Regions from separate parts of the Homo sapiens genome. Here regions 1, 2 and 3 are each linked to region 4. Evidence: promoter capture Hi-C in 16 types of primary human blood cells and fetal thymus (Javierre and others, 2016). All regions are on one chromosome and are shown on one strand. The core of a region is centred on a gene start or on the middle of the fragment in contact, and the rest is flanking DNA. Distances in the headings are between cores, read along the strand shown. Region 1 overlaps EML4 (EMAP like 4). Region 2 has its middle 67 kb from the start of LINC01913. Region 3 overlaps EML4 (EMAP like 4). Region 4 holds the start of PKDCC (protein kinase domain containing, cytoplasmic).

The links. Contacts are between HindIII fragments. The CHiCAGO score rates a contact against its expected background, and 5 or more counts as called.
Region 1: a fragment that was not itself captured here is called in contact with the fragment with the promoter of PKDCC in region 4 in 1 of 17 cell types (naive B cells); the score reaches 5.0 in naive B cells.
Region 2: a fragment that was not itself captured here is called in contact with the fragment with the promoter of PKDCC in region 4 in 1 of 17 cell types (megakaryocytes); the score reaches 5.2 in megakaryocytes.
Region 3: a fragment that was not itself captured here is called in contact with the fragment with the promoter of PKDCC in region 4 in 1 of 17 cell types (naive B cells); the score reaches 5.6 in naive B cells.

What each region holds. Positions count from the first base shown.
Region 1 is chr2:42,282,100-42,284,877 of GRCh38, reverse strand. It overlaps EML4 (EMAP like 4), which reads right to left. Exons shown (of 23, transcript NM_019063.5): 8 at 1,906-2,055; 9 at 175-244. Among named protein-coding and RNA genes, the nearest start is that of COX7A2L, 78 kb to the left of the region's middle. The HindIII fragment of the contact is 235 bases long and covers 1,283-1,517 here.
Region 2 is chr2:41,809,297-41,811,996 of GRCh38, reverse strand. No RefSeq gene overlaps it. Among named protein-coding and RNA genes, the nearest start is that of LINC01913, 67 kb to the left of the region's middle. The HindIII fragment of the contact is 1,046 bases long and covers 900-1,945 here.
Region 3 is chr2:42,218,690-42,221,389 of GRCh38, reverse strand. All of the region lies in intron 1 of EML4 (EMAP like 4), which reads right to left. Among named protein-coding and RNA genes, the nearest start is that of EML4-AS1, 50 kb to the right of the region's middle. The HindIII fragment of the contact is 1,204 bases long and covers 707-1,910 here.
Region 4 is chr2:42,046,685-42,049,590 of GRCh38, reverse strand. It overlaps PKDCC (protein kinase domain containing, cytoplasmic), which reads right to left and starts at 1,570. Exons shown (of 7, transcript NM_138370.3): 1 at 753-1,570. The coding sequence starts at 1,391. RefSeq lists enhancers at 682-941, 2,442-2,561, 2,185-2,689, 2,690-2,906 and silencers at 982-1,051, 1,182-1,281, 1,292-1,471, 1,622-1,871, 1,982-2,271. The HindIII fragment of the contact is 13,255 bases long and covers 1-2,906 here.

The sequences.
Region 1 (2,778 bases), core at 151-2,650, 240 kb before region 4:
TCTGTCTTTTAAAGTGTTCTTATATCCTAATGTTTTTTCCATGCTTATACTAGAAATTCCTCAGTACTTAAATTTTAAAAGAATAAAACAAATGAGTTGTGGTTAAAATTACAATAGATTCCACTCTAACAGCAATGTCTCTAGGTACAGAAGGCATAACACTATGCCACTCACCCTTCCATCTTTATCCACGCCAGCTATCTGTCCAGTTGCAATCCTAATTTTGTCAGGATGTATAGCAAGGCTAAAAAGCAGTATTAAGAATGATTTTAAACACAGGAAACATGAAACAACAGAATACCTTTGTACTGACATTTTTCAAATAAGCAGTTTTTAATCGTTAAAAAACATACGTTTATCTGTTTTCTTCAGCAAATCAAACAATCATCAAATATCTGAAGATTTCTGAATTTTCAGCTGTACTTTTTACTTGTTAAGCTGCACAGATTAATGAAACACTAAGTTCAAAGAAAATATTTATAACTGTGGCATGCTAACGAACTGTTTTCATTTGCTGAAGTTCCTTTCTAGTCCACGCACAATGGCATACAAATCACACGACTTTATTATAGTGAAGATGCAATATTGTGCTGTTTAATTTTAATCTATTAAAGTACAAGCATTTTTTCCTTTTGCTACATAATCCTCATACATGCTGACTTGACAACTCTTCCATCTTTTAGGCCATTTCTTACTTTTCAACAAAAGAAAACAGCAATGAGCATCTTCACACATAGTGCTTTCAATCTTTTAATTAGTTCTTAGCGCTAAATTCTTGTAAGTCAAACTGAGGCAAGGAATTTTTAAATAGAAATGGGAAGTAGCGTAGCATATGTGCCTAAATTACTCACAGCACGTATATGAGTGACTAGCAAATTTCTGAAAAAGACATCTTTATGTCCATATCTAGACTCTTTCAACAACGGTTGTACACTGTGAACATTCTCTTGCTCTTAAATATTTGTACTTAAGAACACATCAGAGGGATATTTACATATTAATACATAAAGTGCTTCCTCATTCTTTACAGCTACATGGTGACCTATAGGTACACTACAACCTCACCAGTAGTCCCCAACTGAAAAATACTTAGGCTGTTTCTAATCTTCATCACAAACAATGCTGCAGTAAATAGTTTTGTACATACATTATTCTGCAAGTGTAAAAGGCAATATTTTAATCAACTCCAAAAGTTCAATATCTATATAATATTATAATAGTCATCTATTAATTTTTTTCTGGATAAAGATACAGGTGCCAGCATAGTACAGACATAAAAGCTTTTAAATGTTGGAAAACATCCAGTCAGTCCTTGGATCTAAGTGGGGAAAAGGGTAATAAATAAAAAATAAAAGTTGGAAAATATTAATAAACAATAAATAATTGCATTTAACTAAAAAGTAACAAAATAATTTAAAAGCATTTAAAAGGAGTTCTCACATTTGTAGTATGACATCCTACGGCATACTTATGATCCTTATTCAGCTAGATTTCTTTCTTCCCAAAAGAATAAAGCTTCAAGTATAAAATTTATCTACATAGGACAAATCCTCAATAAATATCGAGTAACCAATAATCACTTTCAGAAACCTGAAAATGTCCAGTCTGTCCCATATATGTTTCACACTACAGACCAGAGAAGAGAAGGACTGTACGACATGAGAAAGCAGAAGAGGTTCCAATCATGATTTATGGAGGATGTGTTTTGTTGCTGCTGATACCACACCACCATTTTGGAGGCCGAAAGTCCTTTTTTTCTTTTTAAAATATATTCAACAGATGACCCATAATATTTTTACATTCTGAGCTTTCCACAAGAAATCACTTTCAATAAAACCCAAATTTAAAAAATACAAAATGAGGGCCTGAAAGAACAAAAATGAACCAATGTTAAATGATACCAACCATTTCACACAGTCTGTATGGCCCAGGTAGTGTCGCTGAGTTCTCTCCTCATAATTAAATAGTACTACTACTGATGCAATGAAATAAACTATTTTCCCGGTCGGAAGAAGGTAAACATTAGCTCTACAGTCCTTTCCTCGATAACCATATCTTAACAGAAAAAGAGTCAAGGTTTTAAATAAACACAGTTTTCAAGTTGTTAACAGATTTTTCATGGATACTTAAGGAATTAGGAAGGTACAATGAAGAAGACTGAACTAGAACTAGAAAACTCATGTCCTGGACGGGCAGAGTGCTCACACGTGTAATCCTAGCCCTTCAGGAGGCCAAGGTGGGAGGATCACTTCAGTCCAGGAGTTTGAGAGTAGTGCGGGCAATAGTGAGACCCCATCTCGACAGAAAATAAAAAAAATTAGCCAGGCATGGTGGCCTGTGCCTGTAGTTCCAGCTACTTGGGAGTCTGAGGTGGGAGAATCACTTGAGCCCAGGAGGTCAGGTCAAGGCTACAGTGAGCAGTGATCGTGCCACTGCACTCCAGCCTGGGCCACAGAGACCCTGTTGCCGCCCACCCCCACCCCTCCACCAAAAAAAAGGAAAACTCATATCCTGCCATTATCCCTAGCGTAACCTGACTCTTTCAGTATGTTAAGATCTTAGTTTCCTCATTTACCAGACAAATATGTATTGAAATCCTAATGTGTATCAGGCATAATGGTGAACATTCAGTTCTGAACAAAAAAAATGTAGGCCCTATGTCTCTAGAGCTTATCCTCTGGCAAAGAAAAAAAAAAATCACCAAATATAAAATTACAAATCGTGGGGGGGTAAAAAAAAGACTGCTAGGAGAAAGCCCAAATGGAGGACCTAATTTAG
Region 2 (2,700 bases), core at 173-2,672, 240 kb after region 4:
CCACCTCTAACACTGGGGATCACATTTCAAAATTAGATTTGGAGGAAACATGCTTCTGAACCATATCACCAGCAGAAGAATCTCTCACTCTAGTCTGCTAATATGGAGTCTTACATAACATAGTATACTCATGGGAGTGACATCCCATCCCCAAGTCATATTCTGTTGACTAGAAGCACATTGTAGGTTCTGTCCATACTCACGAAGAGGGGATTGTACAAGGGCATGGATCATTAGGGATCATTAGAATATGTCTGCCACATATCCTTTAGTATGTCTCTGTTTTTAAATGAAACTTATTGAGGTTTTCTTTGTAACTTAATGTATGGTCAATTTTGTGAATGTTCCATGTACACTTGAAAAAAATTACATTCTCTATTGTTGTATTTGGGAGCTTAATATACATTTTAATCTATATTTTACTAATTATTTTGTTTAGATCTTCTATATCCTTACTATTTTTTTTGTCTATTTGACCTGCTTTTAACTGAGAATGGTTAATGTATCCTATTGTTAATGTTTTTCTGACCATTTCTCCCTGAATTTCTTGTAGTTTCTCCTTTATAAATATGGTTGTTATATTATTTGGGACAAAGATATTATTAACTGTATTTTTACTGTAATGCATTGCTTGAATTTTAAAATGGCCTTTATTATTTCACACAGTGTTTTGTTTTTGAGGTTTCACTATGTGATATCAAGATGGCAATCACTGTTTCTAGTATTTTTCATTTGCCTTGTATACATTTGCCTATCTCTTTAATTTTAGTCTTTTCAAATAATTTTGGTTTAGGTTGTTTCCTTTAAAAATAGCTTTATTTAGGTGTAATCGTTAAACTTTACATATTTAATGGCTACAACTTGATGAATTTGGACATATGAATATACTTATGAAAGCTTCATTCACAATAAAAGTGATAGACATTATCAGTCACCTTTAAATTTTCCTTTTTCTTCATTATTGTTGTTGTAAAAACTCTTGAGATGAGATCCTCTTTTAACAATTTTTCAGTGCATAATATAGTAGTATTAACTATAGACACTATGTTGAACAATAGATCTTTAGAATTTATTCATCTTGCATAACTGAAACTTTATACCTGTTAAACAGCAACTCCCCATTTTCCCTTCCTTCCAACCCCTGGAAGCCACCATTCTACTTAACATTTTTATGAGTTTGACTATTTTAGTTACCTCATATAAGTGGAATCATGCAATATTTTTCCCTCTGTGACTGGCTTAACTTCACTTAGCAAAATATTTTCCAGGTTCATCCACATTTTTGCAAATGACAAGATTTCCTTCTTAAAGGCTGATTGAGTTTCCATTTTATAAATATATCAGATTTTCTTTATTCATCTGTTGATGAGTATTTGGATTTTTTCCATATCTTGGCTATTGTGAATAACACTGCAGTGAACACGAGAGAACAGGTATCTCTTTGAAATCCTGATTTCAATTCTTTTGAATATATACTCAGAAGTGGGGTTGTTGGATCATATGGCAGTTTTATTTTTTTTGAGGAACCTCCATACTGTTTTCCATCGTAGCTACATCATTTTACATTCTTGCTAACAGTTCACAAGCGTTCCAGTTTCTCTACATCCTCAGCATCACTTATATATATTTGTAATAATAGCCACTCTAACAGATATGAGATGATATCGATCTCTTTGGGGTTTTGATTTGCCTTTTCCTGATGATTGGTGATATTGAGAATCTTTTCATATACTTATCGGCCACTCATACATCTTCTTTGGAGAAATGTCTATTCAAGTCCTTTTCCCATTTTAAAAATTGGGTTGTTTCCTTGCTATTGAGTTCTATGAGTTCCTTATGAATTTTGAATATTAATCACTTATGAAATATATATTGCGTATATATTCTCCCATTCCATGGGTTGCCTTTTCACTCTGCTAATTGTCTCCTTTGCTGTGCAGAAGCTTTTTAATTTGATGCAATTCCACTTGTCTACTTTTGCTTTTGTTGCTTGCATTTCTTGTGTCTATGCAATAAATCATTGCCAAAGCCAATGTCAAAAAGTTTTTCCCCTATGTTTTCTTCTAGGAGTTTTATAGTTTTAGGTCTTACATTTAAAACCTTAATTCATTTTGAGTTGATTTTTTTGTGTAAGATAGGGGATCGAGTTTCATTTTTTTTGTGTGTGAATATCCAGTTTTCCCAGTTTTCTTTGCTGAAAAGACTATTTTTTTTCTGCATTGTGTATTTTTGGTACCCTTGCTGAAGACCAGTTGACCAAAATATACATATATACGTATATATATGTGTGTGTGTGTGTGTGTGTGTATATATATATATATATATATATATATATGAGTTTGTATCTTGGCTCTCTATTCCGTTTTATTGGTCTATTCATCTGTCTTCGTGTCAGTGTTAGGTTGTCTCTTGAGTATACAACATAGAGTTCAGTTTTGCTTTGTGATCCAATCTGAAATGTTTTTCCTTTAAGTGGTAAGCATAGGAATTGATATTTGTGCCTGGACCTAATTCCCTTAACTGGGCCAGTGCACTTATCTTCCAGCTACTCCAAGTCTTGCCTAATACTGGTTCATACCTTCACCTTTCTTTGGAGGATTGCCTTTGATGGATGGGAGTCACCTAGTTGGGAGATGCCTTGAAATTATGACCCCTGCCTCCAATACCAGACAGTGACTCACTGATGTTGATATATAACAA
Region 3 (2,700 bases), core at 59-2,558, 170 kb before region 4:
AAACAATGTGCTGTCATCTAAGCTTTGTTGTTCCATTTCTAGAGCATACACATGCGCAGGGTAGAATAATCCCAAGGCCCTAGGATTTTCAGAATGGTCAATGAGCACTGGCTTCAACTTAAAGTCATCAGCTACAATACCCCCTCAACAGTCAGCTTGTCCTTTGAAGCCAGGCATTGGCTTCTCTTCTCTAGCTATGAAAGTACTGGGTAACATCTTTTTCTAATATAAGACAGTGTTGTCTACACTGATAATCTGTTGTTTAGTGCAGCCACCTTCATCAATGATCTTAGCTAAATCTTCTAGATAACCTGCTGCAGCTTCCACTTCAGAACCTGCTGCTTCACCTTGCACTTTTATGTATGGAGATGGCTTCTTTCCTTAAACCTCATGAACTAATCTCTGCTAGCTTCAAACTTCTGCAGCTTCCTCACGTCTCTCAGCTTTCATAGAAATGAAGAGAGTTAGAGCCTTGCTCTGGATTAGGCTTTGGCTTAAGGGAATGTTGTGTCTGGTCTGACTTTATATTCAGAACATGCAAACATTCTCCGTATCTGCAATAAGGCTGTTTAACTTTATCATTCATATGTTCACTGGAGTAGCACTCTTCAGAAACTTTTTCTCTGCATTCACAACTGGCTGTCTGGTATGAGAAGCCTAGCTTTCAGCCTATCTCAGCTTTTGACATGCCTTCTTCATCTAAGCTTCATCATTTCTAGCTTTTGATTTAAAGTGAGAAACGTGCACTCTTCCTTTCACTTGAACACTTAAGAACCATTGTAGGATTATTAACTGGCCTCATTTCAATATTGTTATCTCAGGGAATAGGGAGGCCTGAGGAGAGGGAGAGAGACAGAGGAACAGCCAGTGTGTGGAGCAGTCAGAACACACAACATTTATTAAGTAGGCTATCTTAAATGGGTGTCACTCATGGCACTCCAAAACAATTACAACAGTAACATCAAAGGTAATGGATCACAGGTCACCGTAAGAGATATAATAATAGTGAAAAAGTTTGAAATACTGTGAGAACTAGCAAAACGTGACACAGATGAAGTGGGTACACATGCTGTTGGAAAAACGGGGCCAATACACTTGCTCAATGCAGGGTTGCCAAAAACCTTCAATTTGTAAAAAAAAAAAAAAAAAAAAATACAGTATCTGCAAAGTGCAAGAGTATGAAGCACAATAAAACAAAGTATGCCTGAATTTGATATGGATAACTGGTATTTTTTCAATTATGTGTTATACACGTATTATAGATAAGTAAAACAATTTTTTGAGAATTTTGCTGTTTCCAATGATCTATGACATACACTATGAGTGAAAATAATGTGCAGCAACAAAATAAATCTTCAAGACATACTCCCCTACCCAAACTGCCACCCCTTAAGCCCTTCCTATACAGAAATTTTCAAAGCAGCTATTCCTGGCAAAAAAGAGTTTTCCTTTTTTTTTTTTTTTTAGATGGAGTCTCCTTCTGTCGCCCAGGCTGCACTGCAGTAGCACGATCTTGGCTCACTGCAACCCCCACCTCCCAGGTTCAAGTGATTCTCCTGCCTCAGCCTCCCAAGTAGCTGGGATTACAGACATGCGCCCCTTACGCCCGGCTAATAATTTTTTTTTGTATTTTTAGTAGAGATGGGGCTTCACCATGTTGGCCAGGCTGGTCTTGAAGTCCTGATGTCAAGTAATCTGCCCACCTCGGCCTCCCAAAATCCTGGGATTACAGGCGTGAGCCACTGCACCCAGCCAGAAAGGGGTTTTCAATGCATTGTCCTGCACCAAAACCAAAACAAAACCACATACATAAACTTTTTGATTTTTTAAAATTTTGTTAAATGCAAAATGTCATTTTCTAATCTATGAAAATCTAAAAGAAAAATTAAATGTAGAAACTAAAGCAAGCTTAAGATTTACAGAACTTCAGGTAGACCTTTTCAAAGACATCTACAGTCATCCCTCAGACATGCAGGAGGGTGGTTACAGGACTCCTACATATACCAAGTCCGGGCATACTCAAGTCCCATAGTCAGCCCTGCACAATCCACATATACAAAAACTGAGGCCTCTGTATACACAGGTTTGGCATCCCTGGAATACTGTATTTTTCAATCCACGTTTGGTTGAAAAAATCCACATATCAGTGGACCTGCCCAGTTCAAACTGGTGTTGTTCAAGGGTCAACTGTATTTCCTTATGAAGGGGGCTCTTCCTTATTTGATGCCGTTTCTGCTACAATTAATCAATTAAAGGTCTACAACTAAACTTTCTATGTTCACTGTGGGTTCTTCATGGCCAAGAGTCATTGGTGTGTAAATGATGTCACTGATGAAACAAGCAAATGTGTTTCAGTTAAATTTTGGAGTAAACGCATAACAAGCATTAGTTAACTGCATTATACCTTACATTAAAAGTTTTTACTAAGTCAAGTGCTGCAGTGCATGTTTGTATTCCTAGCTGCTTGCGAGGCTGAGATGGGAAGATTGCTTGAGCCCAGGAGTTCACGTCTAGGCTGGACAACACAGCAAGACCCCCTCTCTTTAAAATTAAAAAAAGAAATTTCACTGATTTTGAAAAGAAGCCACTACCATACTACTGGTTAAAATCCAAAATTCAAATATTCTTGTGGTCAAAGTAAAGCATCTTCAGTACTTAAAGGAGGACTCTTGTACTTTAGTATGGAATTGTATTGTGCTG
Region 4 (2,906 bases), core at 321-2,820:
GCTATCTATATACACTCAGACAGTGTGACATTTAGATCCTCAGGCCGCCAGTCTGTCCACTGAGCTGAGACCTTCAGGCTTCTCCAGGGGCTCAAGGACCCACTTTAAGGCCTGGGGAACCCTTAGTTCACTTCTGGGAAGGACTGTGTTCCCTTTTTCTAGCCTGCTCCCCAGCCCCCTTCCAGTGTCTTCTGGGTGGCGCTGGAGGTGGGTGGGTGGGGAGACTCTATAGGAATCAAGCCTGACACATGGTCTCTTTCCAGCTCTTCCCAGCCCCACTGCTGTCCCGTCTCATTTTCAAAACCAGACAAATCACTGGAAGTTGGGAGAAGTTCCATCAAGAAGGGGGACTTTATCACACAGTTGGAATTCTGACTCAAGTGTCTTGGCTTAGGGTCATTTTGGCTTGGGGTAATATCCCTGGTGTTCAACCTCCTAACTCCAGCCCGGAGTAGAGTCCTAAATCCTAATGGACTGCCCCACCCCCTGAGTTTTGGGAGCCTCTGTCCTGGCCTGTCTTTAAGAGATGTGTGGAAGCCGAGAAACCCAGGAGTTCTCCGGTAAAGGGACGCCCACCCAGGAGTGAGAAGCAGGGTGGTGCAGTGGGAAGGGCCATGGTCCGGTTTCTGCGTCTAGCTTAGCCTGGGTGCAGTCACTGGCACTCCAGATCAAGGGGTTCTCTTCCAGCCAGGTTGACAAGGTCTTGGGCACTCCCAGCCAACACCGTTACCCCCGCGTCCCCACCCTCGTACCTGCAGCACGTTGGGGTGCCGCAGCCGCTCCAGCAGCACCATCTCCTTAAGCAGCTTGTGGGCCGCCAGCCGATAGCAGCCCCTCCGTACCCCGAACTCGCGCACGCAGCTGCCCAGATCGTGGCCGCTAAAGTCCACCGCCTTGAGCGCCACCGCGGCACCGCCGGGCAGGCGGACCCGGTACACGGCCTTGGTGTAGCCTGAGCCCATGTACTGCGCGCCGGACACGTTGCGAAGCGCGGCGCAGCCCAGGCGCGGGCCCGGGCCGGGGGAGCCTGGGCCGGGAGCCGGGGGCCAGCCTGGGGCGCCGTCGGACAGGGGCCGGGCCCAAGGGGGCCGGGGGCGCGGCAGGCCGGGCCCGCCCGGAGCCAGGTCCATCAGGCGCCGCCGCTCCGGCCGGCCCGCCCCGGGCCCGGGGCCCCCGCGGGAATAGCGCTGCACCTCCTCGTAGCGCGCCCGGATCTGCCGGGCCAGCTCCCCGCGGCCCCCGCGACGGCCCGGACCCGGGGCCGGCGAAGGCTCAGGGGACTGGCCTGGCCTCGGAGGCTCCGAGCCCGGAGCGAAGAGCACGTTGAGGACGGAGCCCAGCAGGAAGGAGGCGCAGAAACCCGCGGCCACTGCCGCCCGCCGGCGCCGCATCGCTCCCCTCCCCCCGGCCGGCCGGCCCCGCGCGGCTCCCCGGCCCCGGCCCCGGGCGGCTCAGGCTCCGAGGCGGCTCCGCTCTGCGCCCCGCCGGCCCCCTGCCCAGCCCGCGCGCATGGCCCCGGCGGCCCCGACCCCGGCCCCTCGCGGGCGACACATCGGCCTGACACTTGCCTCCCTGCCGCCCTGCCCCCGCCGCTTATAAGGCCCAGAGCCGCCCCCCGCCCCCGCCCCCGCCCCCTCCCCCGCCCCCTCCCCCGCCCCTCCGCCTCCACCTCCCAGCTCCCGGCCCGAGCCCGTCCTCGGCGCCGCCCCCTCCGGCCGCCCGGCCCGGCCTTCCCCGCTGACTGACAGCGGGACCTCCTCCCGCGGCCGTCCGGGCCTGGGAAGCGGCGCGGAGGCGGCTCCGGTCCTGCCCAGCCCGCGGTCCCGCCCAGCCCGCGGTCCCCCGAGCTCCGTCTGGGAGCGGGGGAGGGGGCGGCGGCGGCCAGGAGGCGCGCGGGGGCTCCGCGCCCAACGCGAGGGCGGATAACGGGGCCGGGGCGGCCGGATAACGGGATTGGGAGGTGGATAACGGAGCCGGCCGGGCGGAGTGGGGGAAAGATAAAGGGGCGAGGCCGGCGGGTAGCGGGCTCCGGAGGGGACGAGCAGCTAAGTCCGGGGTGCGGAGATCCGAGTGATCTCAGCGCTCCCTCCTGGGACTGGGGGCCTCGGGGCGGTTTGGGCGCAGGGAAGGCGCGTGGACCCCGTCTCTCGCGGGTGGGGCCGGGGGTGGCGGCTCCTCGCTCAGCCCCGGATTCCGGATTGGGGCGATGGTGAGGGGGAAGCGGGCACAGCCGGGCCAGCACCTGCGAGCGCGCGTGGGACAGGAGCTCTAGGCATAGAGGAATGCTCGTGAGCTCGCCGAGGATGCCCTGTTCAACTCCTTTTACCAAAGTGTTTCTGATTTTCCTTGCCTCTAAAGCCCCAAATGCAGCTGGGGGTCGCTCCCTACCCCTCAAGATGCCTGGGGTCTGACGGGGTCAGCCGCGTATAAGAAACCATGTGCATGCTAGTAGCTTGGGCAAAGAGTGCGTTTGTGCCCACGGACGGCTGTCTGTGGAGTGTGTGCCTCGGCGTGTCTGAAGGGGCCATTGTGTCCGATGAAGGGAATGTGTACCTTGTGTGTAAGTTGGTGCTGACGCCACCAGAACTTCGGTCCCTCCTCCTCCCTCCCTGATTGCATCATTAGTGCTAATTGAGGGGCTTTCACACGCCAGTGCACTAGCTGTTTGGAGTGAGCTCCCCCCTCCTGGGAGAGATAAGCCGCTGCCCCTCCCCCTCGCAGCTCTCCTCTTCCCCGCCACTCTGAAACTGCCCACCTAGATCCTCTCACCTTCCTGGGCAGCTTCCTGCCTCCCTCTGGGCCAGGTTAATCTCTGTCCTCCTCACAGTGTCAGGGATTGGCTGGGGAGGGGTCAGGGAGGAGAAGGGTCCACAGCCTTTTTTCTGGGGGTGGGGGTGGGTGGGGGG